Linked DNA regions of Homo sapiens: all the other regions are linked to region 4. The links are contacts of gene promoters, found by promoter capture Hi-C in human tissues and cell types (Jung and others, 2019). All regions are on one chromosome and are shown on one strand. Each heading gives the region's core, a stretch centred on a gene start or on the middle of the fragment in contact. The rest is flanking DNA. Distances are from core to core; before and after follow the strand shown. Region 1 overlaps NALCN-AS1 (NALCN antisense RNA 1). Region 2 overlaps NALCN-AS1 (NALCN antisense RNA 1). Region 3 holds the start of LINC00411 (long intergenic non-protein coding RNA 411). Region 4 holds the start of GGACT (gamma-glutamylamine cyclotransferase). Region 5 overlaps PCCA (propionyl-CoA carboxylase subunit alpha). Region 6 overlaps NALCN-AS1 (NALCN antisense RNA 1). Region 7 overlaps NALCN-AS1 (NALCN antisense RNA 1).

Region 1 (4,297 bases), core at 64-2,563, 400 kb before region 4:
GTTGCTAGTTAGCTGTTTTATAGTTTCTTTTGTGTGTTGCTTCAAAGGGTCTGTGGATTATGTTGTTCCTTCATCTCCATGTTTAGAATTGCCTTAAGGATCTCTTGCAAGGCTGGTCTAATGGTAGTAAATTCCCTTAGTGATTGTTTTTCTGAGAAAGATTTTATTTCTCTTTTGCTTATGAAACTTAGTTTGGTTGGGTATGAAATTCTTGTTTGGAGTTTCTTTTTTTTTTTTCCTTAAAGATGCTGAAAATAGGTCCTCAATCTCTTCTGGCTTATAGGGTTTCTGCTGAGAAGTCTGCTGTTAGCCCGATGGGGTTCCCTTTGTACATAATCTGACCTTTTTCTCTAGCTGCCTTTAAGACTTTTTCTTTAGCATTGACTTTAGACAATCTGGTGACTACATTCCTTGGTGATGTTCAGATTTTTATAGTATCCGGCAGGTGTATTTGGAGGTATATTTCTAGCCAAAAAAATTCAAGAATACTCTTCTGGGCTTATACCTCCACCTCCACCCTGTCTTTTCCATTTGTTGCTAATTCTTTCACATAATGCCAGTTCTTTAGGCTTTAAGAAAAGCCAGTCAGCATCTGCACTGTCTTCTCTCTTCCTTAGTACTGTCACAACCCACAGAGGCCACCTCCCAGAGATGTTGGTATTTCACTGAATTGGCACATTAACATTCCTTTTCAACTTCACCATGCATTCACAGAAATTTGCTTTCTCTGGATCAAAGTGGGGAGAGATTCTGGGTTTTTTTATTATTATATTACATTTATGTTTTAAACAGTATTCATTCCACAACTAACTTCTTTAAAAAACCAAGTAATTAATTCTTAGCCAAGAATAACCAAGTAGTTAATTCTTAGATTCTTTCCTTACTCCTAAAGTTATTACAGAATGGCATACAAGACCTGAGGAAACCTGGAAAAGTATCAGTTTGTCTTTAAATTATCTTTGTCGGATGTGTAGAAAATATATGGGAACTGAATAAAGAAAGAGCTGAGAGCTGGATAAAGAAATAGTTGAGAATAGCAGAGTGACTAAGAAACGTTCTTCAAGCTTGGCTCTTATTTTTTTTTTTTTTTTTTAGACAGAGTCTCCTGTGTTGTCCAAAGCTCAGCACTATTGACTTTTGTGCTGGTTAATTCTGTATTGCAGATGTTTAGCAGTATCCCTGGCATCTACCCATGAGATGCCAGTAGCACCCACACACACCAGTTGTGATGACCAAACATATCTCCAGATGTGGCCAAATGCCCCCTGGGAAGGGTAAGGGTTGATCATCCCATTGAGAATCACTGGTCTAGAGGTTCAAATTCCATTTTCACCACTTACAATCTGAATGATGTTATCCAATATCCATTCTTTCTATTCTTACTAATAGAACCCCAAATTTGATCAGGTTTGCTATAAGCCCAGCTAAAAACGTTAACATAGTTCTGCCTATTGAGACATAAGCTGAAGTTTTCTGGAAGGCTTTTGTTGATCTGATCTAGGCGACACTCCTTTTTCTTTCACCCTCCCCTTTCTCTTTGCCTGAAATGCCAACACAGTGAATGGAGCAGCAGCAGTCACAATGTGCCCATGAAGACCAAGCCATGCACTGAAAATGAGAATGTAGGAAGGTGGAAGGAAGCTAATACAAAGGCCAGCAAATCCAGCTTGCCTGTTTTTATACAGCCTACAAAAGGAATAGCTTTTACATGTTTTAATGGTTACAGGAAATTTTTAAAATGTATAATATTTTATGACATAAAAATAACATGAAATTTGTATTTCATTGTCCATAAATAAAGTTTTATTGGTACGCAGTCATTTGTTTACATATGATCTGTGCTGCTTTTGTGCCCTAAAGGCAGAATTTAGTAATTGCAGCAGAGATGGTACAGCCCACAAAGCCTAAAATACTCTCTGACCTTTAACAAAGTTTATCAACTCAGACAGAATAACATCCTTGACAACTCAACTCCAGACTTTTTGTTGTGTGAGAAAAATAAGCTATTGGCTTATATAATCCACTATTTTTCAGCTTTATGTCACTTCCAGCCAAAGGCAGTCTAATTGGTGCACAGCTAAATGAGATTTGATGAACTGGAAGAACCAAGGGCAGCATAATGAGGACACTGTCTAGAGGACATTCTGCAGACGTCAGGACATCTAATTTATTTCCCTATAATTTCCCAGGAAGTTTAAAGCTTTTCTTGGAATAGACTGTGTCTATAAAACCGGAAAGGAGGGAAGAAATGAAAACTTTGAAGAATAAATCTTTATAGGACTCAGCAGACAAATAGGTGCACAAAGCAGAGAAGGTACAGTAAAATAATAATACCTTAGTGTATTAGTTATTTATTGCTGTGGAACAAATACTCCTAAGCAACAACACTTTCATCTCACATATCCTGAAATTCAGGAAGCTGGGCATGGTTTAGGACTTGCATTTACTGAATCACAGTGACAGTAGATTGTAGCCATCTCAAGGCTCAATAGGAGCCACTTCCACACTCACTCACAAGGTTGTTGCCAGAATTCAGTTCTTTGCAAGCTGTTGGGCTGAGACCCTCTGTTCCTTACAGCTATCAGCCAGAAGCTGCCCTCAGCATCTTGCCACGTGGCCTCTCTGTAGGGCAGCTGGCGATGTGGCAGTGGCTTCACCAGAGTGGGCAAGTGAGGATTTGAAAAGGAGTGTGTCCCAGATAGAAGTCACAGTCTTGCACAACATCATCCAGAAATGACATCCCAGCACTTCTGCTGTATTCTGTTCATTAAAAGTGAGTCACATTAAAAGTGAATCCCCACTTGAAGGGAGGAGATTAAGCAAAGGTGTGGGTACCAGGACATAGGGTCATCAGGCACCTGTCAGAATCTCCCTACTACACCCAACAAAGTGTTCAAATTCATGGATTATTTTCACCTGGATTACTTTTGCTGCTAATCTTGGGACCTTTTCTGAAAAGCAAAGGAAGTGGACCCAGGTCCATGACCAAATCTTTCAAATGTCATCCCTGTGTAAAGATTTGTGCCCTAAATAGGAGGTTCCTGCTCCCACCTCGCTCCAACTGACACATAACCATCTCCACCCTCTCTGCTCGTGTCTTGGGAGTCCCTTATGTTAGCCAAACGACAAGAGAACAATTCTAACCCTGCCACCTAGAATCTAGGTATTTTTGGAAAAGTGTTTCCCATAAGTAGTTTACCCTTTATCTTTTGTCTTAAAAGTGTTTGTTGCTTTTGCCACGATGTGAGTTCAGAAATGCAGGCTGGCTTGTTCGTGAGTACCTACCTGCCAGTAAAGGCAAACAAGGCTCCCTTGGCTTAGATCTTCTTGTCCTGTGGTCTTTCCCACTCTCCCTCACTTTCCTCCTTAGCCTTCCTCCTCCAAAAGAGGGCTCCCTCACTTCACATTCTCTTCTCCCAGTGGCAAGTGCTTTCTGAAACAAAGAAGCCCTTGCCTAGCCCTAAGACGGCTCGAGTGGCCACTTCTGACCAAATAGGCTTCAAGTTGGTGCTACAACTAAGCACCGAGGGTCTGTGAATTAGACTCTTTAGCATGTGCAGCGCTGCTTTGATCTTGGCAGACAACAGCCCTCATCTGAATGCCCCCTACCTCTTCTTCTAAGCGGACACTTCAGCCTCCCTTTGCTGAGACAAACCAAAGAGTTAATCAAACTCCTGAAATGAGTCCCAGGGAGTTAGAAACATGGAATCTTGCCCTGTCTATTTTGCAAATTTAAAGACACTGGGCTTCCAAAGAGCTGATACTTGAGGGTCTTTTAAATGCCTAGAATACTAAACGGGCTGGGGGTTTTCTGTCCTTAGGCTAAACCAGCTGAAATAAGAAAGAAATATAAAATACTTTATTTTCACCTTTTGGACAGATCCATTTTTTATTTAAAAAGCAATAAATCAACAGATTCAAATAAAAAATGGTGAGTTCATGTCCTTTGTAGGGACATGGATGAAGCTGGAAACCATCATTCTCAGCAAACTATCGCAAGGACAAAAAACCAAACACCGCATGTTCTCACTCATAGGTGGGAATTGAACAATGAGAACACATGGACACAGGAAGGGGAACATCACATACCAGGGCCTGTTGTGGGGTGGGGGGAGGGGGGAGGGATAGCATTAGGAGATATACCGAATGTTAAATGACGAGTTAATGGGTGCAGCACACCAACATGGCACATGTATACATATGTAACTAACCTGCACGTTGTGCACATGTGCCCTAGAACTTAAAGTATAATTAAAAAAAGGAAAATATGCATAAGTTTATACATATCCAATAATTA
Region 2 (4,200 bases), core at 269-2,768, 310 kb before region 4:
ATTAATTGTTACAAATGTACCATAGTAATATAAGATGTTAAAAACGAGGACACCATGTAGTGTATATGGGAATTCTCTGTACTCTCTGTAACTGTTTTACAAATCTACAACTATTTTGAAATTTGTTAAAATTGAAAGAAATAACAAAATGACTTGGGATATATTTAGAATATAAAGAATATACTTTAGGCAGAGAAGAAATAACACTAGATTAAATATCTGAGATGGAAGAAATAATCATGAAGAAAATATAGATAAATATAAACAAACATCAATTGTATTCAATAAAATATCTAATATATATGAGAATAGAATAGACGATAAAAATGTAGACGGTCATAACATGTGACTTAAAAGAGTTTAAAAGAAGTTAAAGTATTCTAACATCTTTAATTACTACAGAATACAGTGAGCATGTGATAAACTTTAGACTTTGATAAGTTGAGTAAGCACATTAAAATAGTTACTGTGAGCACTAAGAGAATAGACATAGAGCATCATAATCCTATCAGTTCTTCAACATTTATTCAGAATCTGACCATTTGTCTTCACCTCTTCTGCCACCTACTCAGGTCCAAGACATTGGATTCTCTCACCTGGGTGAGTGTTGCAACCTCCTAACTGGTCTCCCTGCTTTTTTTACTCTACCCTTATTGAGTCTACTGTCAACACAGAAACTAGAGTGGTCCTGTCAGAACGGAAGCTAGATCTTGGTGTTTCTCTGCTCCAAGTCCTGCAATGACTTCACTTTTCATTCAAAGTAAAAGCCAAAATTATCACAATGATTTGCAAGATCCTGCATTAACTGGCTTCTACTTACTGCGATAACCTTGTATCCTACCGCGTTTTCTCACCTACCCTCCATTCCACACCCTCAGGCCTCTAACGTCTAACATTGAAGACCCACTCTCACCTCAGCCTTCACACTTCTGTCTGCCCAGAATGCTCTTCTCCATGGCATCTGCATGAGTCATTCCTTGGTTTACTTATATATGAAACATTCCCTGACTACCCTATTTAAAATGAAACCCCTTCATCAGAATTCACTATCCCTCTTCCTTGGTTGATTTTTCTTTGTCACCAATGAACTTACCACATAGTTTAGAGAAACTTTGTTCTCTAAGATCATAGACTATCAAAAGCTTTGCCGTTTGAAATTAAATCAATATGAGACATTCTGCTCTTGACTGAGGATCTAAGTCACTTTGACGCAGAGCAGCATTCTTGATTCACAACTCAGCTACAGAGCACCAGATAAAGGATTTCTGGACTCAGCCTTCCATGTCTATCTTAACTTTGTAGATTCCAAGGAAATAGGACCTTGGGTTACCTGATGCTGCTTTGAGCCTAAACTCCATCCTTCCCCCAAATCCTATAATACTTCTATCTTTTCCTTTGTTTGGTGAGACATCTTATGATTCTCAGCATGTGGTTTTCCTCATTGCAATGGGCCAGTAAATCTGATTTTGTCAGACTAGAGGTCACACAGAGAAAATTCTAAAGTACTGGTTCACAGGGGTTCATTTTATTGTTATTCTTTATACATAGATATTTTATTGCACTCTGACATTGAGGTATATTGGTTATATCAGTAAACTATGTTATCTTTAATTACTAAGACAAGTCAAAATTAAAACGAGCATCTCTCTAAATTAGGTTTTCAATTACATTACGACATATCAAGATTTCCTAATGATTTCCTATTTCATTCTTAATTCATGGAATGTCTGACACTCCCAAAGAGCAGTGCCTTCTTCCTTTGCTGACATAATCTGACTGCGAGTGGCCAAATCACACTGTTCGGTTCAGCTGCAAGGATGACAATATCCTCAAGTGGGTGGTTTCTCTCCTCCTGAAGCAGGTGATGAGGCTGTGGGAACTTGGCCCCATCACCTCATTCCTTCCATCATATCCTTGCCAGATGTTTCTGCCAGATTGATAAGGCTTCCATGCCTCTTTGTGTCTCATATTTCTTTAGTAGTGATTATACCAACCTGTCTACTTTCTGGAAAAAAAAATTCCTATAATTAAGAGCCCAGACATTGTGTACTTATTAGACACGATGGTGTCTCAAAGACAAATTAGGCACATTAAGTGTTTTTCCTGTGACTAGTTTATTGAGCCTGTGTGAGCACTAGTGACAACACAACAGGGCCATCTTTTAAATGAATCACTGATTTGCTGAACATCTGTTGAGTTTAGTCAGAATTAATCATTTGATGTCCTAGTATATGTCCTATATTTTGTAATCTTTCTTCATGTTCTCCTCAGAACTTGATGACATGTTTCAATAAGTAAATTTCAAGGGTTTTTTCTCCCATAAAATAAAAAAGCTATTTTCCTTCCAGGAAGAATTATAAATTTGACTAAGTTTTTTAACATTTGGATTCTTTATGAAAATCTTCCATGGTTTCCTGCTCTCTAGCTGGAGTTATTTAGAAACCCTACTAAAAATCCTATTTAGAAAGTGATATTATATATCTTTGTTCTTTTCAGTAGTAATTATTGGTATGGCAATAATAATAATGATGTGTAAATACACTTGCTATGAATTTCCTATGTGCCAGCTAGCTTGCATACCTTCATTGTCTCATTTAATCTTTTAAAAATCCTGCAGATTTAGTATCCTTATCCACATCTAAGGGTAAGGAAATGGTAGCTAAGAGAGGCTGGGTGACTTGCTAAGGGCACAAAGCTGGGTCAGTATTTAGACCCAAGTCTGTCTGATCCAAAGTTTACCTACATTCCAATATACTCAGCCTCCTGCACTGATGGTGCAGTTAATTAAGAGGGTAATTAACTGATAGCTAAGACTTGGCCTCCCTATGTAGAAACAAGACTCCATTTTCATTTTTTATTTTTACCAGTCATTAGGACATTCCCAAACATGAGCATGCTAGGACTTCTGAATTATGAGTTAGAAAGGCAAGGAAACCAGGATTGAGCTGATGGAGAGTGAACAACCACCACCCTGGTACAAGGAAGACAATTCTTTTCCAGTGTTCAGTATCTAATACAGAGGATAAAGGGGGAAGATAAACAGATAGGCTTCAGTCAAGGAAATCCAAAAGGACCACTGTGATGGCTAATTTTATGTCCACCTGGCTGGGCCTGGCTGCCCAAAGATGTGGTCAAACATTATTCTGGATGTTTCTGTGAGGGTGATTTTTGGGGAGACTAACATTTTAATCAGTGGACTAAGCAAAGCAGATTGCCCTCCATAATGTGAGTAGGCCTCATCCTGAAGGCTTAAAAAGAGCAAAAAGCTGACCTACTCCAAGTAAAAGAGAATTCTCCCGCCCAATAGCCTTCAGACTTGAAGTGCAACATCAGCTCTTCCCAGGTCTTCAGCCTGGCAGTCCACTGGACAAGCTTTTGACTTGCCAGACTCCAGGATCACATGAGCCAACTCATCATAAATCTCTCTCTCTCTCTTTCTCTCTCCCTTATTGGTTCTGTTTTCCTGGAGAATCTTAACAAAAACAGCCACTTTGGGTTTAGTTAGCATCTCCAGGGCAGCAGCACACAATGCTTCAAGTCAGATGGCAGCACAGGGGCTCTCAGGGCCTCACAGCAGCTGAAGGGCATGGGAGGTAAGAAGCAACCCTGTAGGGGCACCAATAAGAAGCTGAGGAATTAACAGGGTAAGTGAAGGATCCTGGTGTTGTGAATGGATCTGGCCAGCAAGAAGCTCTCAAGGGGCTATGACTCCAGCTGGTGCACTGAGGCTGCTGCTCACTTCCTCTGGTCAGAACTGGTTCAGGAAGTAGGCAGGACTAAAGCCACAGGTAAAAGACACACACAACTTGAGCCTGAAAGGTGAGGAAGGCCAGCAATTGACCTTTGGTGGGGGTGGATGGGGCAATTCTTTTGTTGTTTAACATCTTGGAGGAGAAAAGTTTTTGAAACCTAGTGCATCAAGAAAACACCTCAAACCTCAAAAGGGAATGGGCTAAGACTTGAGAAGACTTTCACCTCCTCTCTCCCAAGCATAGGAAGTAACAAAGACCTCTTCCAACCCAATCCCAAGCCTCTGCATTCTACAGAGCTGGTTTCAGGAGACTATTACATCAATTCCAAAGCAAGCAATCACTTTCAGAATTATTTTTCATCCGCAGAAATGTCCATGAAGTAAAAGTCTCCGTCAACTCCCACAATCTTTCCCAACTCCACCTGCCACCCTCCAAACACTTCAGATCT
Region 3 (3,882 bases), core at 944-3,443, 350 kb before region 4:
AAATAATATTAGCTCCAGATGGATGGGAGGCCTTTCTGGATGGAAACCTTCACAGCTTGTCTTAACTGTGACTCTAGGGGAATACATGGAAAAATGGCATCATGGATTCTAAAATAACTGCAAGTGAGATCGTTGTATGTACTTTCTGTTTACTTTACACAACCCTCACTCACTTCTCAACCCACAGAGATATGATTTCTGCTCACTCCATTTCACTAAAACAGCCCTTGCCAAGTTCTCTAGTGGTCTCCATATTACTTGAGCCAACTGACCTTTTTCAGCCCTCATCTTCCCCGACAACTCAGCCCTGTTGGCCACGCCCTTCTTTGTGAAACACTTTCTTCCTTGGATTTCTATAGTGATGTCACCCTCTCCTAATTGTCTTCCTGTCCCCAGCTACTCATTGGCTCTACCTCTCAAATCCTCACTTACACAGCCTATAAGTGTTGGGGTGCCTTAATGCTTGATGTTAGACCATCTACTCTTCTCACTTAATAACCTTTCTCTGAGGCATCTCAATCAGAGCTGTGGCCTCAACTGCTTAACAGAGGCATGTGAAAAGTGCTGCAGGAGTGTTCAGCCGAGTGCGTGACTATGTCATGTGAAAAGTAGCTTGATTTGGGGTCACTGCTATTCAGTGGAAAATTTAACCTTGGGATGGATAATGCAGCCCAAATTTGAACTCTGAAAGACTATTCACTGGATTGGAAGACCAATAGATACCAATAAATTAAAAGTAATTGCTGTTTATCCTTCATCAAAATTACCATTATTCTACAAGGTAAGTGCTTGTCTATACATTACAAGCCCTGTGTCTATTGCCTATGCATTAACTATGTATTAGCATTTCCTACATTCTGTACATTCCCTTTATCCAAAATATTCACATCTACCTCTTACTCAGCAGTCCACCAGGCTTTCCCATCCTTAGTAGCGTTTATTGATTGCCTTCAGGATCTATAGTGATGTTTAAAGCACTATAATCCATCTCTATCCTCAAAGATCTTGATGGAGTATTACAATAACCCTATCACTTATTGTTGTCAGCTTTTCCATCAGCATCAATTAGAAAAGGCATGAAGGGACCATAGGTTGATCAATTACTTTATCAAGGGAACAAGTATGGAAGCATCACTTGCAAATGATCAACAATCATTATTGCATGCAACTAAAAGGAGTATGTTTTATTTATTTATTTTTTTGAGGCAGAGTCTCACTCTGTTGTCCAGGATGGAGTATAGTGGCGTGATCTCGGCTCACTTCAACCTTCACCTCCTGGGTTCACGAGATTCTCCTGCCTCAGCCTCCCAAGTAGCTGGGATTACAGGTGTACACCACAACATCCGGCTAATTTTTTTATTGTAGAGACAGGGTTTCGCCATGTTGGCCAGGCTGGTCTCAAACTCCTGACTTCAAGTGATCCACCTGCCCTGGCCTCCCAAGTTGCTGGGATTATAGGTGCGAGGCACTGCACTCAGCCTGTTTTACTTTTTTTTAAATCCACAATATAGCCAAATCTCTTGTATACACAAAATAGTGATCTGCGGTCCATCTCATGGCAACCATGCTGTTCAGCCTATTGATCTTCTTTAATGAATTACCTGCTTTGTTGACATCTGCACTCTGCAATTCCAGAATTGATCACACATTTCCCTCATAGCCCATCTCCTCATTTCCATTAATTTTACATACTGTCTGCAGAGATAATCCGCTGTAAAGGAGGTAACACTCACCTTGGAATCAGAAGTCCTGGGTCCAAGGTCTGACTTGTAATTCATTGGGTCATGCACAATCTAATTTTCTTCATCTATATATCTGCCTGAATAACCCTACACTCTCTCCACACCTCTCAAAATAGGCAGGTGGTAAGAGTTATTACTTATTAGAAGAAGCTTTAGAAATCCAAATATTTCACCATCGTCCTTGATCAATGGAAAGTTTAAGAGAGACAGAATCATCTATTCTCAGTAGCATGGACTGCAGGGAACTGCCTCACTGAAGCCCCTGTTGATTTATTACATTAATTCATTACAGTTTGTGTGCAGAATATTAGACATGCCTAGCTTCAGGTCTCAACCTGAAGACATGTGTCATCCAACTAGATCTTCAGAATTACTCTGTGAGATAGGCAGGGCAGGTGCTATTGTTTTGATTTTGCAAATGAGGAGAGTCTCAAAGTTTAGCAAACTGAACAAGATCACACAGCTAGAAAATGGACAAACCAGGGCTCCGTTTTTCAAGCTTTCTAATCCCTAGTTCTTCACCTTCCAACACCTCTAACCGGAAGGGAGAAAGCAGTGCTTAAGTCCCTTTTCAGTGCAAAGAATGACAATAACCTGAGAGAGTTAATGCACCTTCCAAAAGATTCATTTCTCCCCTATTCACAAAGAGTCAGGCAGAAATTGATTTAGAACAATCAGGAGAAGACTCAGTAAGCTTCATCTACACAATAAAAATAATACACTTAGCATTCTCATGTGACTTCACATTTTGTAGTTATTGACAATAAACAATTAAAAATTTATCTCATAGATAACCAGATGGCTAGTATAATTATTTTACAACACAAAACACCTAGACAGGCTTCCTTTTTATTAGGTAGAGATAATTTAAAAATCAATTTAACAAAACCACTTTAAATGTACAGAGTTCCAAGCCTCATTGTGGTGGAATAAATCCTGGAAATCTGGGGCATTTAATTTACAATAAGCCTCAATAAACTGCCCTCATGAGATGGCTCTCATGACTAGAGGTCATTCATACAGGCTGAAGCTTAGTTGTAAACAGACTACACAGTGCGTTCTAGCCATTTCCAGCTTGAGACACAGGAAACTCCTCTTATCGTAATCAAATGCTGACAAGTCCCTTTGACTTAGAAAGTGACATACGGTGAAATGGACCCCAGTTTAAATTCTTCTCAAGTTTTCAGGGTGAGAAAGCAATTCCAAAGCAGCCCATTAGAGGTATTTGTCTGCATGCATAAGACATTAGGCAGCCTGACATGACCTGATGTTTGCAAAGGGAAGGATGGGTTTGAGGCAAAAGGATTTTGTACGTGCAAAGTGGTACAGGCCAAAAGAGCCACACATGTAACTTCTTTACATATAGCTTGCCAGATCTTTGCTTGCCTGCAACTAGCTGATTTTTCTATGAATGTTAAGTTCATGAGCAAATGAATAGAGGATCCAAACCTACCTTTTTAATTACAAAATGCTTTTTCCTCCCCTACAATCAGACTTCTACTCATTTCAGCACTGAAAAAAAAAATGTAATCATCATAATTCCTAGTAGCTTGCTTCTGTTTCCGCTTCAATAGATACCCTGTAGATGGGAAGTCACATAACAGCTCCACGTCCTATCAAGTTGCTTCCACCCGAAAACAGCTGCAATGCTTATCTAATTAAACCCCAGCCCCAAACTGTGAGCTTCCGCATCAATCATTAATATTGTATTATGGATCATTTTAAATTCTGACTGGGGTAGGTGGCTCCCCGCACACTGGTCTCTGAAGGAGATTTTTCAAATAATCTTTAAGCTGCATTGAAAAAATAAAACAAGCTGCCTGCTGTTCGAGGAAAGCTCTACTATCCTGCTGCACCCTGATTAGCTGTTAACACTAATTGAGAGATGAATATTGCTTATTCCAAAAATGCTAAAGATGGGTTTTTTTACATTATGAAAAGGAAAACGCAGTTCTCCTCACCTCAAAAATGTGTCTGTGGCTCTTTGTCCAAATTCTAAACAGCACCAAAAGAATGGTGGTTTCTGGGTCTCTTGTCTACAGTTTGCAGAGTGATTATCCTGAAACACTTCTTTTCTCTAGGTGGCCCTCCAGAGTTAGTGAACTGTGACCTCCACATGGGATTTGGACATGCGTGCCCT
Region 4 (4,192 bases), core at 845-3,344:
CATCACTCATTAGAATGTCCATCTCTGGGCCCCACCCCCAGACTTGCTGACACTGAGTTGACCCCCAGAGTCAGGACACCTCCAGTGTGGCTGGAGATTGTGCATTTCTAAATACCCAGGTGCTGCCAGTGCTGCTGGACTGGGACCACATTTCAAAAACTGCTCTTCAAACTGTGAGTTGTTTTCCAAGAAGTTAAACTGAAGGCTTCATCCCACAGAGCCTATTCTATGTTAGATTGGGCTTCCCCAGCCTTATCTGGGATGCAACTTAACACTTGTCTTGGCTAGGCACTGTGGCTCATACCTGTAATCCCATCGCTTTGGGAGGCCAAGGCGGGTGGATCGCCTGAGCTCAGGAGTTCAAGACCACCCTGGGCAACATGGTGAAATCCTGTCTCTACCAAAAAATACAAGAAACTAGCCGGGCGTGATGGTGGGTGCCTGAGGTCCCAGCTACTCAGAAGGCTGAGGTGGGAGGATCACTCGAGCCTGGGAAACAGGGGTTGCAATGAGCCAATAACATGCTACTGTACTCCAACCTAGGTGACAGAGTGAGAACCCATCTCAAAACAAACAAAAAATTCGTCTAGTCTGCGTCATCTTTAATTTTCCTTTATCAGAAGAATTATTTATCTATTTGTCTCACTTTCCTTTGCTGACATGATTTTCCCCCCTCAAAAAAGAGATGAAAGTGGAATCATTCTTTCGCTTCAAAAAGTTAAGAATTACTGCTGTCTTTAAAAATATTAATATGAGGCCGGGCGCGGTGGCTCACGCCTGTAATCCCAGCACTTTGGGAGGCCGAGGCAGGCGGATCACGAGGTCAGGAGATCGAGACCATCCTGGCTAAAATGGTGAAACCCCGTCTCTACTAAACATACAAAAAATTAGCCGGGCGTAGTGGCGGGCGCCTGTAGTCCCAGCTACTTGGGAGGCTGAGGCAGGAGAATGGCGTGAACCCGGGAGGCGGAGCTTGCAGTGAACCAGATCCCGCCACTGCACTCCAGCCTAGGCGACAGAGCGAGACTCCGTCTCAAAAAAAAAAAAAAAAAAAAAAAAAATATTAATATGAGCTAGACAAGGTTTTTTAATACATTTCAATTTAATTATGAAGTGTCCAAGACAAGAAAAAACTGTGAAAACCAACGACTTATGTACCTGATGGTTTAGATTTCTTTTGGAATTGTACATCTGTTCAAAATACAATTACATCTGCATTGTTGGAAACGTTTGGATAAAAACCAGTTTATATAAAGGTTTCAATCAGTCCACATCCATGAGAAAGTAGAAAGGGCAGGAAATGATTAAGGGGGATTATTGCTAATCTGATAAACACAGATTTGTGTCTTTCGGAGAGACAGAAGTGTCACTCTCTCCATAGCTGTACCATTCCTACCACCTGGCCCCCAAGTGGCATTGCTTTAACCCATTGTCTCTAGGGAAAATGTTCTCTTTCGATTTTGGTTCTCAGTCCTATAATTTCTGGGGCTTAAATTAGTCCTGGAGCTAGGGAAGAGGTGATGTCATCCTTCCATTGTCTCCTTCGGCCACAGTTTCATTTTAAGAGTATTGGTAAGTAAGTGGGCAGTGTGACTAGATGGCGGTCTGGACTCGGTATCAGGGCTGTGTGCATGCCCAGCTGGGGGGCCTTGGTGGTGTGTGATGTGATAGATACACACATGGTTGGCATCCCCAAGTGTGTCTGCGCTTGGGTTCATTTGTGTGTGCATGTGTGTCCATTTGATGTGGCGTGTCCCCAAGCTTGTGGAGTCGTCTGTGAGTCTGTTTTGTGGGGTGTGGCCCAGGTGTGTCAGGGTCCACCATGCAGTCGGGGCTTGAGCCTGAGTGCCCAGGTGTGTTAGGGTGGATGTGACTTCTGTGGGGCGTCCCCAGGTGTGTGAAGCTGGTTGCGCTGTGTCTGCGGCGGGGCGTCTCCGGCGGGCATCGGCGTGGGTGGGTCTGGCTGTTAGGCGGCCAGTTGTGCGAGCGGCCACGTGTGTGCGAGGGCGCCGCAGGGGCTGGCGGGCCTCGCGTTCCGCCTGCAGGGGGCGCCGCCGGGGGCGGCCTGGGAGCAGAGGCGCGGGCCCGGCCCTGCATTTCCGCCCTGGCCCTGCCCTCCCCGACAGCCCCGGCTGCCGGCAGGTGAGGCGCTGAGCCCGGGCGGGGGTCGGGGCTGCGCCTGCTCCGCCCCCCAGGCGGGGTGTCCTGGCGCCCGCGGGAACCTGGGGCGTCGCTCCCTGCGCGGCGTCCGGGTCGAGGCCGCAGCACTCGGCGTCCCCGCGGGTGAGGGAGGAGGCCTGGGGCGCCGCCGGCCGGCGAGGCCAGCCGGAGGGAGGGGACGGTGGACCCCGAAACGCGTCCTCCATTGCCCCGCGCGGGGGCCACGGGCGCGATTGCCAGAACGGGCAGAGGGCGGTAAAAGCCAGGAACCGCCTCACGCACGGGCGCTGCTTCCCTGTAAAGGAAGCGTGACAGCCCACACGCTGGCTTTCAGAGGACCTCAGCTGAACCGGGCTAACACTTCTCAGAAATTGTTTTTCATTTTAAAGATTTCCTGTTTGTAAGGAGACTAGAAGCTGCAAAAGAAATCTAAAAACGTCTCCTGGCACTTGTGAATTTCTGATCTAAGGTTTCTTTGGAGCCATTAGTGAAACTTCTGAAATTTTGAAGAAATTTACTGCCTTGATTATTAATTATGGTTATCATTGCTGTTTTACTCTGTGGGCCAAGGACAACGCCACAAGCTCAAAAGCAGACTTAAGTGTTTTTTGAACACAGCTTCTTAACTCCACGCTTAGTTGATTTAATATTTAAGTGATAAGAAAATGCAGTCGATTTCTGGCCCTTTTTATTGTTTGGGATGAAGTCTTGCCCTGTTGCCCAGGCTGGAGTGCAGTGGCGCGATCTCGGCTCACTGCAACCTCTGCCTTCCGGGTTCAAGCGATTCTCCTGCCTCAGTCTCCCGGGTAGCTGGGATTACAGGCGCCTGCTATCACGCCCAGCTTATTTTTGTGTTTTTAGTAGAGACAGGGTTTCACCATGTTGGCCAGGCTGGTCTCGAACTCCTGACCCCGTGATCCGCCCGCCTTGGCCTCCCAAAATGTTGGGATTACAGGCATGAGCCACTGCACCCGGGATTTGTGGCCTTTTTTAAAAGCAAGTTATTCGTTTTGCTAAATGTCCCAGGAGAAATGATTAATGAAAAACTAAAGGTGACCTATTTAAAGTGTAGGTCTTACACACACGTAGGTGTCCTTATGTACATTTACCTGTAAGTGAAGACTTTTCCCTGGCCTCATTCAATTTATTGAAATGCTCAGATGAAGAGCACCTGCAGTTTGCCCGTATTTTCCCAAAATGCCTTGTTTTCCTGAAACTATTCCCAGAAGAAGCCAGACTTCCCTGAATAAGCAGACCACTGTGTTCTAGCAGAGATTCGTATTGTAAAAGCTGAGTTTGCAAAGTTAAATTAATTTCTAATTGGTGGATTTTTGTACGGAAATACTTTGGGCTAGTTGATTTTACTAACCAGGCCCTAACTACTACTAGTTAGGAGAGGGTGGTTGTTTGTGGTGATCTGGATAGTAGGTAGCAGTAAGCAGAATAGAAGAGGGATTTTAAAATGATCTGTTCATTTCTCTCTTTACTAGTAAGATTTCCAATCTGTGTCCATTCTTGAAGTGAAGTCATTGGGAGGCTTTGTATCCACCTCGAGCCAGGGCCCTTACCAGTGATTAGGACACCAGCAGGCTGGTGTGGAAGTGTAGTGCAGCCATGCTTGAAGAGGGGACAGGACCCAAGGAAAGGTGACAGTAAGAGGACAGAAACACGAAATATTCGCAGCCCTCTTTAGAACATCCTCCATCTAGGCAAACTCTATTAGGAATTTTAAGAGTTCTCAATTAAACATGACTGCCCAGTGTCCTGCTGAACAGGAATTCATTCTTCAGTTGAAGCTCTATTGTCAGTAAAACTACTCAGGATAAGGCAGCCGTGTTTAGGCCGTGAGGACCTGCCCCTGGACTGCGGAGCTTGCTCCGTAAAAGGCATCGTGATACCCCCTTAAATGGATTTACAGAAAAGACTTAGCTATTGGAAGTCTCTGGGATTGTATGGCATCATGAGGTAACAGACCTGGTAAATAGCTAGAACGTAGCGAAGAATGAAACCAGAGGCAGTGTGCTGTTGGAAC
Region 5 (3,977 bases), core at 965-3,464, 420 kb after region 4:
ACAGGTGCCTGCCACCACGCCCGGCTAATTTTTTGTACTTGTAGTAGAGACAGGGTTTCACCGTGTTAGCCAGGATGGTCTCCATCTCCTGACCTCGTGATCTGTCCACCTTGGCTTCCCAAAGTGCTGAGATTACAGGCGTGAGCCACCGCGCCCAGCCACACCCAGCTAATTTTTAAATTATTTGTAGAGATGGGGTTTTCCTATGTGCCCAGGCTGGTCTTGAACTCCTGGACTCAAGTGATCCTCTGGCTTCAGCCTCCCGAACTGCTAGGATTACAGGCGTAGGCCACTGCGTCTGGCCGTAAAGAATTATTAATGACTAGTAAGTAAAGTGGTAAGCAACAGGAATTCAGAAATGAATGAGTAAAAGTCCTTGACTTGACATGGAAGTAATTATACTAAGGCTAAAAAAGAATGTGGAAGTGGAGTGGGGCATAGTAGTCAGAGGAGGCATGCTCATTCTGTCTAGAATCTCAGCTTAAAGGCCACACTCTCAGAGAAGACTGTCATCACCCTATCTCAAGAGGCTACCCAGTCACCTTTCAGGACAGTGCCTATCAAATTTTCTGGGCTTTACAGTTTTAAATATTGACAATCTCAAGGAGCTTTGGCTTATACATGTTGTATATATCAATATTTACCATGTTAAAATTAAGAAATTTTTAAAAATGTATTTCAAAAGAATAGCCCATTTAATGTTAACAATTAGAAGTAACATTTTTATGACAAATTCATTAGAGTAGAAATGTTTTACATTTTCACAAATCTCTTTAACATGTGGCTTAAGACAGCTGGATTCTCAAATCTGGTTCCTGCATTCAATCTGCTGTGATAACATATATCATATAACTCTACTGTTACATGGAAAACTCTACTGCACAATCCTCAGAGAATGAGAGCAGGAAAAACTATTATGGAAAATTGTTTACTTCAGAGTGTCTGAAAGGGTCTCAAGAGTCCCCAGGTACCACAGAACATACTGGGAACCAATGCTCTATTGTATCACCCACTCTTATTTTATGGCTACTGTACGCTATGCTGACAAAATATGCTGTTACTTGTGTATAGATTATGTAAATATGTAACTAATTTACATCCAATATATTTTCTATCAATTGTGGCATTCTAATCAGTAAGAGCATATATTACTATAAATGCTGTTATCAAAATATTTCCTTATAAATCAAATATTGTGGTTAAGAAATACAACACATTATTTTTATCTGCACTCAACAATCAACTAGCACATAAAGGACTGAATAAAAAGCTAGGAACATGTACACATGCACACACGTAGTGGTACAGACAGGCGCTACACCATAGGTAGGTTGGGAAGTGGAAACATACAGAAAAGAATACTCTGTGCTTGGAACATTAGCATATCACATATTATGAGTCAAAATGGTAACTTAGGAACATTGTAATATCCTTAAATAAGGACCAGTACAGAAACAAAGCCCCAGTGATCATTTCATTATTTCTGCTTCTTTGCCTGTTTTAGAAAGCATGCATTTAAAAGTTTAAGTTTAGAACAAATCTGGGGGCAACAAGAATCATTAACTACATGTAACAGAGATAACTAGCATTACTTCAGTTAACCCAAAAAAATCCTCGAGCAATGTACTTCCTTCACTAGAACAAAAACAAAAATCTTTCCAACTGAATTCTAAGCTTAGGAGTCACATACAAATAAATCAATGAAAATAAATTTTAAGACATCACGAAGTTACCGTAAGTTTAAAATAGCATAACACAATGAAAGCACAAGGATGCTTCTCAAAGCATCCCTTCTACATTTATTTCCAGAATTCTAAATTTGAATTCAGCAACTTATCTAATCTAGCAAAGAGTTAATAAGCACCTCCAGAAAGCCTGAGTGATACAGAAGAATCAAAAAGCATGAGTTCAGGCTGGGTGTGGTGGCTCATGCCTATAATCCCAGCACTTCCGGAGGCTGAGGTGGGAGGATCACCTGAGGTCAGCAGTTTGAGACCAGCCTGGTCAACAAGGTGAAACTCCGTCTCTACTAAAAATACAAAAATTAGCCAGGCAAGGTGGTAGGCATCTGTAATCCCAGCTACTCAGGAGGCTGAGGCAGGAGAATTGCTTGAACCTGGGAGGCGGAGTCTGTAGCGAACTGAGATCGCACCATTGCACTCCAGCTGGGCAACAAGAGCGAAACTCCATCTCAAAAAAAAAAAAAAATACAGAAATTAGCCAGGCATGGTGGCGCTCACCTGTAGTTCCAGCTACTCAGGAGCCTGAGGCAGGAGAATCACTTGAACCTGGGAGACGGAGATTGCAGTGAGCCAAGATCGTGCCACTGCACCCTAGCCTGGGCAACAGAGCAAGACTCCGTCTCAAAAAATAATAATAAAATAAAAAATAAAAAGCATGAGTTCAGCCTTCTACTTGCATACAAAAGTGACTAATCCTTACATAAATCAAGGGATTTTTTTTTTTTTTTTTGAGACAGTCTCGCTCTGTCGCCCAGGCTGGAGTGTAGTGGCACGATCTCAGCTCACTGCAACCTCTGCCTCCTGGGTTCCAGCGATTCTCCTACCTCAGCTTCCTGAGTAGCTGGGATTACAGGCACCCGCCACCAACCTGGCTAATTTTTGTATTATTAGTAGAGACGGGGTTTCACCATGTTGGCCAGGTTGGTCTCAAACTGCTGACCTCAGGTGATCCGCCCACCTCGGCCTCCGAAAGTGCTGGGATTACAAGCGTGAGCCACTGCGCCTGGCCAAATTAAGGGAAATTTTTAAAACAATTTACTTTATGGTTGAAACATGCCTTTTTTGCCATGTAATCCATAGAGGGTTTTGTTTCTAAATTACTTCAGAAAGCTTAACACAAGAATCAGAAGCTATATTCTATTTTAAGATTCAATAGAATGTCAGTCTGTAAAACACTGGTCTTTCAACCCGGTAGTTTTGGCCAAAATTAAAATAACAAAACAAAAATCCCAACAACAATAAAAACCCTCAGTTTACAATGGCTTAAAATAATTTTAAAAAGGCTTATTTCACACAATGAAAAGAAACCTTTTCTTGAAAGGTCCCCTCACTTGCCAGGAATCAAACTGGACCATGAGCCTCCCATAAACTGGTCATTGGTAAGGAAGAGAATGAATCCTGGTCAGGATTTCACTAGTCAGAATTTACCACTGAGACTCACAGGGAAGGGATGGTCACCTAAGGTGACGCTAACAACCGGGCAGAAAGGGTGGACAGCAGCATCAACAGCATCTGCTACGTTGTCACATTTCAAAAGGGGTTCAAGAGTCACCTAGGTAGAACTTGAATATTTTCCCCCAATACTAGCATAAGTAACAGCTAATAATTCTCTTTGGTTCTTTTAGCCTCAGCTGGAGTGCTTGGAATCTGACCCATGCATACATGGAACACTCCAGAATTCATTCCAGGAACTGTTCAAAAAAGGCCAAAAAAGGAAACTGCCCCCATGCCATTTCCTCCTTCCAAGGGTAGTCGCCTTCCTATTTCTGTCTAATTGTGGCTGCTCTCTGGTACCCATAGGTATTATGTAGCTTTTTCTATTTTGTCCAGAATTTATAATTGGGATGTGTGGAGAGGCTGGTTTGATATATAAATATTCTTGGTTACAGCCTAATTTATCTTAGACCCAGTAAAACGCTATCTGACATCTTGTATACTGTTAATGACTGGAGCAATCTTAAACCTCATCCTTCTATGGGAATGAGCCTCTCTTACTCACGATGGTTATGTGTGGAACTGAAGAATGAACACTAGAATCTCTCAGGTTGAGATTCAACTGCTGAATAAGGTGGCATATGTGTTCAACTGGATTGTTAAAGTAAGGAAGTTCTGAGAGAGAAAAGAGGGGGTCAGTGGTGAGGAAGGAGGTCACACCAAGACGGCCTCAGCAGGATTAGTAATACATGGGAGTAAATGAAAGGGGGTGTGGACAAAGTATTTTTAAGAGTTCATTAT
Region 6 (4,081 bases), core at 1,090-3,589, 290 kb before region 4:
TTTTTATTTTCAACCTTTCTGCATCATTTGGTTTTATATTTGCCTCCTGTAAACAGCTCATAACTGGATTTTTTATTCAATCTGAGAAAGCCGTGTTATTCGCATAGATTGTGATTCCTGACATGTTTTTCCTTTTTGCAATTCTGTTTTGGTTTTCTGTTTATTGTGCACCCTTTTTATTTTTTTCCCTGTTTCTTGTTACAAAGTTTTCTTTATTCCATTTTTCTCCTCTGATTACTTGGCTATTACCTCTATTACTTCTATTCTCTAAATAATTACCTTAAAATTTTTAACATGCATATTTAAACATATTTTCCAACACTGAAAATTATTTGTTCATTCAACAAATATTCAATGCCTGCACACCCTGTGTGAAGCATTGTCCTGGGAACAGGGGTTCCACAGAGTAGGAACAATAAGCTCATGGAATTTACATGCTGGTAGGAGAAGCAAGGCACTAAGGAAAGTAAAGCTCACCTGCAGATATTTGCAGAAGAGCCAGGAGGCAAATGTCTGGAGCCACTGAGCAAGATGGAATGTCATGGGAGATGACATCAGGGAAGTAAAGTATGTTGCCAGGGCCGTGTGGGTCAAAGTGAGAAGCTTAGCGTGTTGTTGTTGTTGTTGTTTTATTTTGTTTTTGTTTTTGAGACAGAGTCTCACTCTGTCGCCAGGCTGGAGTGCAGTGGTGCAATCTCAGCTCACTGCAACCTCTGACTCCCTGGTTCAAGCGATTCTCCTGCCTCAGCCTCCTGAGTAGCTGGGATTACAGCCACGTGCCACCACACCCAACTAATTTTTGTATTTTTAGTAGAGACGGGGTTTCGCCATGTTGGCCAGGCTGGTCTCGATCTTTTGTCCTTCTGATCTGCCCACCTCGGCCGTGCTGGGACAACAGGTGTGAGCCACTGCACCCAGCCGAGAAGCTTAGTTTTGCACTAGGTTGGGAATCACTGGAGGATTTTGATCGGGGAAAGAAGCAACCTGACCTGGGTTTAAGCAGGTTCAGTCTGGCTGTGGAGGTGAGAATCCAATGATAGAAAGCACCGGCAGAAGCAAAGGCTGTTAGAAAAATCCAGTCAAATCCAATGGTGGCTTGGATCAGAGTGGCTGCAAGGAGTGGGGAAGTGGCCACATTCTGCATATATTTTGGAGGTAGAGCCAAAAGTAAGGTTTGCTAAAAACCAGATTATTGGTGTTAGCGTAAGAGAGGAGATGAAGTTAACAGCAGGTGTTTAATCTGCAACACGGAGGACCAGATGTGCCATTCACGAGAGCAGAAACTGGTTCCTGCAGGACAGGGTGGGAAATGTGGGGGCCACGTGCAGGTCATGTTCAAATTTGAGATATCTACTACACATCCCAGTGAGACAGAGTGTGCAGTTATAGAGAAAGGACTGCAATCGATGGGAGGCAGAGTCCTCGACATAGGGATAATATTTAGACAGGAACTTTGATGAACTCTCCTGGGCAAGCAGACTAGATGGCAAAGAGAAGAGTTCCAAGAATTGAGTCTTGGGGCAGAGACCATGTAAGAGGCCAAGAAGAGGAAGAGAAACCAGGAAAAAAATTAAAAGAATGAGAGAGAAAAAAAGTGAGAATGATTGCAGGAAAATCAGCTGAGATGTGTTCAGGAAGCCAGGGACAAACAGTGTTTCCAGGAAAGAATGTCAATTTCTGTTGATAGGTCAAGTACAATGAGCTCGGAGATTAACCACTAGATTTTTCTAGGAACAGTTTCAATGGAGGCAAAAACCTGTTTGGAGTATTTTCTAGAGAGAAGGAGAGGAGAGGAATTGGTAGCAATTATAGATGATACTTTGAAAGAGTTTTGTTGCAAAGAAGAGATGCCCTTGGTAGCCTCAGTCAAGTCAGGTGAAATATTTTTTTTAAGATAGGAAAAATAATAACATGCCCGTATGTTATGGCACAGATTCATTTGAGAGGAAATAACTGATTTCTGCAGAAGAGAGAGGAAAGCATTGATGGAGAGCAGGTAGAATACATGGGGACATCCCTTTTTCCCCTTGGAATATATCTGCCAAAGTGACCAGACCACTTATCCTGTAGGGTTTCCTGAAGTCTGGTTGTTGCTCACTGCATTTTCATGGTATAGTTTGGAATGTTCTCAATGGTTTCTAAACACAATTTTGTAATAACAAAGCTTTTTCTTTAAATCAAATTTTAGCTGGAAGCACAGTAGAAAAGGCCTCAGAAGGTGCAGCTTGCGTGTTGGAGTGGGGCCAATTGGACAGTCCCAAAAGTGAGCCAGGGGCTCCACCACGGCTGTCTTGGGGCCTTGTATCTGAACAACTATGGAATGGATAATTAGTAGAGAAACACAGATTTCTGTTAAAAGGGAGCTTTTGAACACCTCCACTTGTTTATAGTATTGAGCCCAAATGAGACCAAAATCTCACTTCCTGAAATAGCTAGAATGCAGATTTTCCATTTAAAGCTATTGTCATGACAAGAGATTATCTTCCATAAGGTGAAAACCATAGGCAACCATGCTGTCTGGGATTTGTACAGCCCTTCGCATTTTGAGAGTTTTTCACAGACAGACATGACATCCCTAAATTCTAACTGCTAACCACCTGAGAAGGAAGCTGAGGCTCTAAAGGTCAAGGGAGGCCATTATCACACAGATAAGTGGGGTTCTCTCCATAGACTGTTTTCTTTGGGTATGGAGATAACAGTATTGACCAAAGACATCAATAGGGTTTGCACTCTTAAGTGGATTGGCCAGAAGTAGCAATGCCCAAGTGTTCAGATATTTGGTTTCTTTAATGATGAAGAAGACATGTTCTCCAAATGACTTTGCAGAGCCAGAGACACAAGCAGTGATTACTGAACTCAGCCAAATTAACTGGCCCTTGGGAAAGTCAGAACATGGCCTCTTCAGGGGGCCCTCACTAACTCAGCTCACCAGCCTGGGAAGCCTTTTAATTCAAGTAATATTAGAAAGGGGTGTTTTTCTCACTGGTTGTCCATTCCATGTGGTACACAGAACTATTTATTTATTTACTATGCATTTTGTATCGTGTTGTATCATGTATCATGTCATTCCCAGTTAGAGCATATCTTGGTTCTGCTGCAGCACAGCTTTGGGGTTTATTAGAAAAGTAATGAAACAGAGGAATCAACCATGTCAAAAAAGGAGAGACAATTTAACAGGAACATTTCTGTGTAGAAACAAAGACCTGTTTTTTTAGAACCGTGAGTTTCTTGCTGTCTTCTCCAGGCTTATGTAACTGCTAATTTGCAATCAGGACTTAAGTTATTTTCACACCCTCATATTAAAAAGCAGAGAATTCATAAATATTTACCAGATAATTGCATATGATACATAATTTCTTCTCTCCCCATAAATTATGAACACATTTGATACATCATGAGGAGGAAAAAAGTTTAGGAAGACAACAAACAAAAATGGCCATTAAAATGGCCGGTCCCACTTTGGTGGCCTGTCCAATTCTTTTTCCTCATAAAACCCCACTACGGAAAAAGAAAGATTCTCAAAATTCCTAAGGCAGTGGCTTAAATTAAACATCCACAGTCCAAGATGAAGCTGATTGATCCAGGTCACTTCCTAACTCAGGGTTCTCACACTTACAAAGTTTCCAATAATCAACCATTAACTACTGTAGTTCCCTGAAGTAAGCTTTTAAAGGGCCATAAAGCCACATTTTCTAGCTTCTCCTCTAACACAGAAATCTTCACATTGATTTTCCTCTTCTCATCGGTTCTAACCCCAATATCCCAAACTCATTTTTATTATCTTAAATAATCAAAATAATGTCCAATAAGAAATAATAGCCAGATAATAACTAAACTCTTAAGCTATAGAGGATGCATTGCTTGAATGCTACGGCATAAGAGATTAAAAAACGTACAGATTAAAAACCAATAACTCACCATTCCAATCTAGTTACAAACAGGTATTGTCTATCCCACACAGTGTTTCATAATTTTTAGTTGATTACTAACATTGACAAATTGGGAGATTTCCCATAAATCTGCTTTTATGGCTCAACCTCAAAATTTGGAAAATCTGGCAAAACTGGGTTCACTGATTATC
Region 7 (4,061 bases), core at 1,052-3,551, 420 kb before region 4:
ACATAGAAAAGGGACAGTAAAAATATGATATTATAATTTTATGGGACCGCCATCATTTATGCAGTCCCTCATTGACCAAAACGTCCTTATGCAGCACATGACTTTATTTGTGCTTCCTGGCATGCTTTACTGAGAAAGTGGTTCCAGCTCCTGTGGTTTAGTCAAAGCTTTTACATGGGATCACCAGTTACCTTAACAGATGTCTCCTTTTCAGCCCGATGGCTCTACTGAGTAGACCACCAGGTAGGACAGGCCCCAAAGCCCTCGACTGTCTCCATGAAAGTGCCTGAGGCAGAAGGAGATGGTCAGCGGGGTGTTCCCATTTCCCTCCTTAGGGGAAAAGAAGAGTGACCCTTGTTTTTCGATATCAAGCAGTGGAGACAAAAGATTTTCTTGTAAATGCTTGGGAATGATGGTTTCTAATCCCCTGGAAGCTTTGAAACTTGCAAAAGCCCTACGTCCACACCCAGAAAACTTCCTAGGTCTAACAGACAGAAGAAAACAATGCAGCTCTTATGGGAAATTTAGCAAAGCCTTAGCCAGATGCTTAACACTCTTGGGACTGGAGAGAGTTGGACCTTCCAGCACACGGGGGTGCCCTGTTGTTTTGACTGGAAGTTCTTCTCTTAAGATCTGGGGTGCTGTCTGATTGGGCCCTTTCCCTGGGCCAAAGAGGCAGTCATGGGGACCATGCAATCCCTGTGGCTCCTCTGCACGGTGGGAAGCAGAGCTTCTTCTTTGTATTTAGTGGCAGGGTGGCACTGAAGGATTTGGGGTAAGAAAGTGCTTTGTAATATCCTAGAAGAATCAGTGAGATCTAAATGGAGGCTGCCTGCTTGCATTCAAGACAGCACTCCGAAACAGTTCCTCCTGGTGTTTTGTGTGTTGTTCCAGACTTTCACAAGGGATAAGCCTCCTTGGGCAAGATGACATCTCCCTTCTCACCAAGCCAACCCCAACCCCACCCTGCTGGGGTGGCAGTGAGTTCACCCATTGAATCATAGGCACTTGCCTTAGAGGGTGAAGCGCTACCACCATCTCAGCCTGCAAAAGCCATTTCCCAGCCATCGCCTAGGATCCCTGTGGCACTAATGACTGATGACTAACATCATATATTATTGCTGTGTTCCACCTGCCACCTTCTGGACTATTTTGTATATTTAGTCCTCATTTCCTCTATTAATCCTCAGGACTTAGCATTTTCATAAATTTCTTACCATCCAAGATGAGAGGAACATCAGAACTCCTGCTCGCTAACGACCAGCAGGCTGTGTAGAGGTGAGCAACGGCCAGCCTCCACTAATTCCACATCAGAGATCACTGAGGCATCCCCAGAGCTTGAGAAGTCAGCTTGCAAAGGAAAACAAAGGTCAGCAGCCTTTTGTGGTTGTTGTTTCACTAATTCTCTTCCACCCACTGAGAAACAGGACTTTGAATGTTCCAAGACATCATGAGGGTCCTAGCTTCCTGCCACCTAGTTGGTCCTGAAGAGACAATATGAAATCCGCTTTGGAAATGGCATGTGTTTTGGATACAGCCAGATCTTATATTTTTAACAGGTAGGAGGGTCAACCAATGTGGAAGCATAGTCTTGACCTCAATATCAAAGAACTTAAAGAAAGAAACAATACTGTAATCCCAGCACTTTGGGAGGCCGAGGCAGGCGGATCACGAGGTCAGGAGATCGAGACCATCTTGGCTAACACGGTGAAACTCTGTCTCTACTAAAAATACTAAAAATTAGTCAGGCATGGTGGCGGGCGTCTGTATTCCCAGCTACTCGGGAGGCTGAGGCAGGAGAATGGCATGAACCCGGTAGGCGGAGCTTGCAGTGAGCTGAGATCACGCCACTGCACTCCAGCCTGGGGAACAGAGCGAGACTCCGTCTCAAAAAAAACAAAAAACAAGAAAGAAACAATACAACATTAACATCCTTTCTTCTTCAGAAAAGAGCATAGAGAAAATTACAGAAGCTCTGTTCTTGTTGTTTGATTTGAATCTTCTCTGGGAAACACACAGCTGTTATTGTTCAATTACATGATTGCTTCCTTGTTAGATTCATTATTATGACTAAATATTAATACATTCCTTTTGGAGGGTGATGCAGTGGTTCTCCAGTGAAACTCGCAAGCAGAGTTAATGTCATTCCAAAATATCTTTATGAATTTAGATGTGCATACAGCCCCAACGTTCCTGATTTTTCTCTCTGGTTCTCAGAGAGATTCTTTGCCATATACACATTGTCTGAAGGTTTTGTCAGCATAACCACATTTTGAATGCAGGTAACAGAAATTATTTTGGTATATTCTGCACCTGAAGCTCTTGAATTTCTGGGTAATGATATTTCTAGTACTTTATTCCTGTGCAAGAGCTGCAGTTCCTTGCTTCCCTCAGCAGATAGACAGCTGCAGTTTTATTAGGCATGGACCTTAAAAAACATATTTCTATATATTTTTGAAGGGATGCTCACTCCAGACATAATATTTCAGAGACAACAAACATCACTACATGTGAAATGCCAGCAGAAGAATTCAGGACTTCAAGTCAAGAGACTACAGAGCAGAGAAGCAGTTGAAAAAGCAATTCCAAAACTTAACACTGTGAAAAAAAAAAATCTGCCAGATGACAATTCTGTATAAAAGTAGCCACACACACATAGAGTTGTACATCATGTTGAGACATAGGACAAATTTAAATTAAGCAAAAAGAAAAGCCAAGGCACATTTGGGAAATATATAGACCTCAGGGTTTGGGGGGATTTCGGGGGGTGTTGTTGCTAGTGGTGGTTTGTTTTTTGCTTTTTTGTGTTTTTTAATAAATTGGAAAGTCAACTGTGGAAAAAGACACAGATGCAAAGAGAAGTGTGATCAAGATAAGAATTTTAAGAAGGTAAAAGAAACTTCAGACACAATAGGACTTTAAAAGAATCAAACAGTTGAATATTTCTTTGGCCTGATCAAACTAGAGGCCGCAGATTTTAGAGAAGACTTGCTGAATAGAATCAACTTTGGGTTTGGGTTTAGTTTGGGAGGTGTTTGTGGGGAAGGGTGGAGTTTGTGATTGATATATATATGATATATATATCATATATATAAATGGTATATATATCATATATATATAAATGGATATATATATCATATATAAATGGATATATATCATATATATAAATGGTATATATATAATATATAAATGGTGTATACATATCTCATATATATATAAATGGTGTATACATATCTCATATATATATAAATGGTATATATATATCTCATATATAAATGATATATATATATCTCATATATAAATGGTATATATATAAATGGTATATATCTCATATATATAAATGGTATATATATATCTCATATATATAAATGGTATATATATCTCATATATATATAAATGGTATATATATCTCATATATATAAATGGTATATATATCTCTCATATATAAATGGTATATATATATCTCATATATATAAATGGTATATATATATATGTCATATATATATAAATGGTATATATATATATCATATATATATAAATGGTATATATATACACCAAGTCCAAGATCGATGTCACACCAAATTTTACACCCTATGTTGATGTCTGCTCCAGCAGACAAACATTATTAAATTCAATATATGCCACTCACTAGAGATATGGCTCCTCAATTCTGTTGAGAAATGAGTATCTCCCTCTTTCTTACTTCCCCTGCTCCTTCGCAAGCTTCTCTTTTTGGCCTTTCTGTTATAGTAATTTATGCCCAGATTCTGTCCAGGTGAGCCAGTTTCCTGAGATCACTGAAGAATCGCCTTGATGAGAAAAGCTGCAGATCATTTTATCGTATCATGTTTAGCTCAGCTTAACTTAAAGCAGGGCTAAAATGCCATAACTCCACACTGGGGCTTCCCGAACTCCTCTCACTCTATGATGAAGCACCACACACCCACCTCTCGGCCTCCCTTCCTGAGAGACAACCCCCAAAATGGCCAATATTTCTCATTTCAAATTCTATGCACAGCCCATATTTGTCATTTCAAATTCTATGTAAGCTTCCTGCAGCC

The links. The method cuts DNA at HindIII sites, captures the fragments that hold promoters and counts their contacts. A contact is called where the count stands out against the background at its distance.
Region 1: a contact is called between a fragment that was not itself captured here and the fragment with the promoter of GGACT in region 4, in 2 of the 25 tissues and cell types used here (dorsolateral prefrontal cortex and lymphoblastoid cells).
Region 2: a fragment that was not itself captured here is called in contact with the fragment with the promoter of GGACT in region 4 in 1 of the 25 tissues and cell types used here (thymus).
Region 3: a contact is called between a fragment that was not itself captured here and the fragment with the promoter of GGACT in region 4, in 1 of the 25 tissues and cell types used here (hippocampus).
Region 5: a fragment that was not itself captured here is called in contact with the fragment with the promoter of GGACT in region 4 in 1 of the 25 tissues and cell types used here (dorsolateral prefrontal cortex).
Region 6: a contact is called between a fragment that was not itself captured here and the fragment with the promoter of GGACT in region 4, in 1 of the 25 tissues and cell types used here (bladder).
Region 7: a contact is called between a fragment that was not itself captured here and the fragment with the promoter of GGACT in region 4, in 2 of the 25 tissues and cell types used here (dorsolateral prefrontal cortex and lymphoblastoid cells).

Annotation. Positions count from the first base shown.
Region 1 is chr13:100,987,337-100,991,633 of GRCh38, reverse strand. All of the region lies in intron 2 of NALCN-AS1 (NALCN antisense RNA 1), which reads right to left. Among named protein-coding and RNA genes, the nearest start is that of LINC00411, 45 kb to the right of the region's middle. The HindIII fragment of the contact is 5,950 bases long and covers 1-4,288 here.
Region 2 is chr13:100,896,604-100,900,803 of GRCh38, reverse strand. All of the region lies in intron 2 of NALCN-AS1 (NALCN antisense RNA 1), which reads right to left. Among named protein-coding and RNA genes, the nearest start is that of LINC00411, 46 kb to the left of the region's middle. The HindIII fragment of the contact is 5,371 bases long and covers 1-4,200 here.
Region 3 is chr13:100,941,074-100,944,955 of GRCh38, reverse strand. The region is part of intron 2 of NALCN-AS1 (NALCN antisense RNA 1); the gene reads right to left. It overlaps LINC00411 (long intergenic non-protein coding RNA 411), which reads left to right and starts at 592. Exons shown (of 3, transcript NR_047015.1): 1 at 592-781; 2 at 3,824-3,882. The HindIII fragment of the contact is 5,107 bases long and covers 1-3,882 here.
Region 4 is chr13:100,586,691-100,590,882 of GRCh38, reverse strand. GGACT (gamma-glutamylamine cyclotransferase) reads left to right here and starts at 2,094. Exons shown (of 3, transcript NM_001195087.2): 1 at 2,094-2,142. RefSeq lists a silencer at 1,942-2,461. The HindIII fragment of the contact is 6,002 bases long and covers 1-3,675 here.
Region 5 is chr13:100,167,934-100,171,910 of GRCh38, reverse strand. The region is part of intron 6 of PCCA (propionyl-CoA carboxylase subunit alpha); the gene reads right to left. Among named protein-coding and RNA genes, the nearest start is that of PCCA, 81 kb to the right of the region's middle. The HindIII fragment of the contact is 6,001 bases long and covers 1-3,977 here.
Region 6 is chr13:100,876,790-100,880,870 of GRCh38, reverse strand. The region is part of intron 2 of NALCN-AS1 (NALCN antisense RNA 1); the gene reads right to left. Among named protein-coding and RNA genes, the nearest start is that of LINC00411, 66 kb to the left of the region's middle. The HindIII fragment of the contact is 3,148 bases long and covers 766-3,913 here.
Region 7 is chr13:101,010,507-101,014,567 of GRCh38, reverse strand. NALCN-AS1 (NALCN antisense RNA 1) reads right to left here. Exons shown (of 8, transcript NR_047687.1): 3 at 1,218-1,350. Among named protein-coding and RNA genes, the nearest start is that of LINC00411, 68 kb to the right of the region's middle. The HindIII fragment of the contact is 3,999 bases long and covers 302-4,061 here.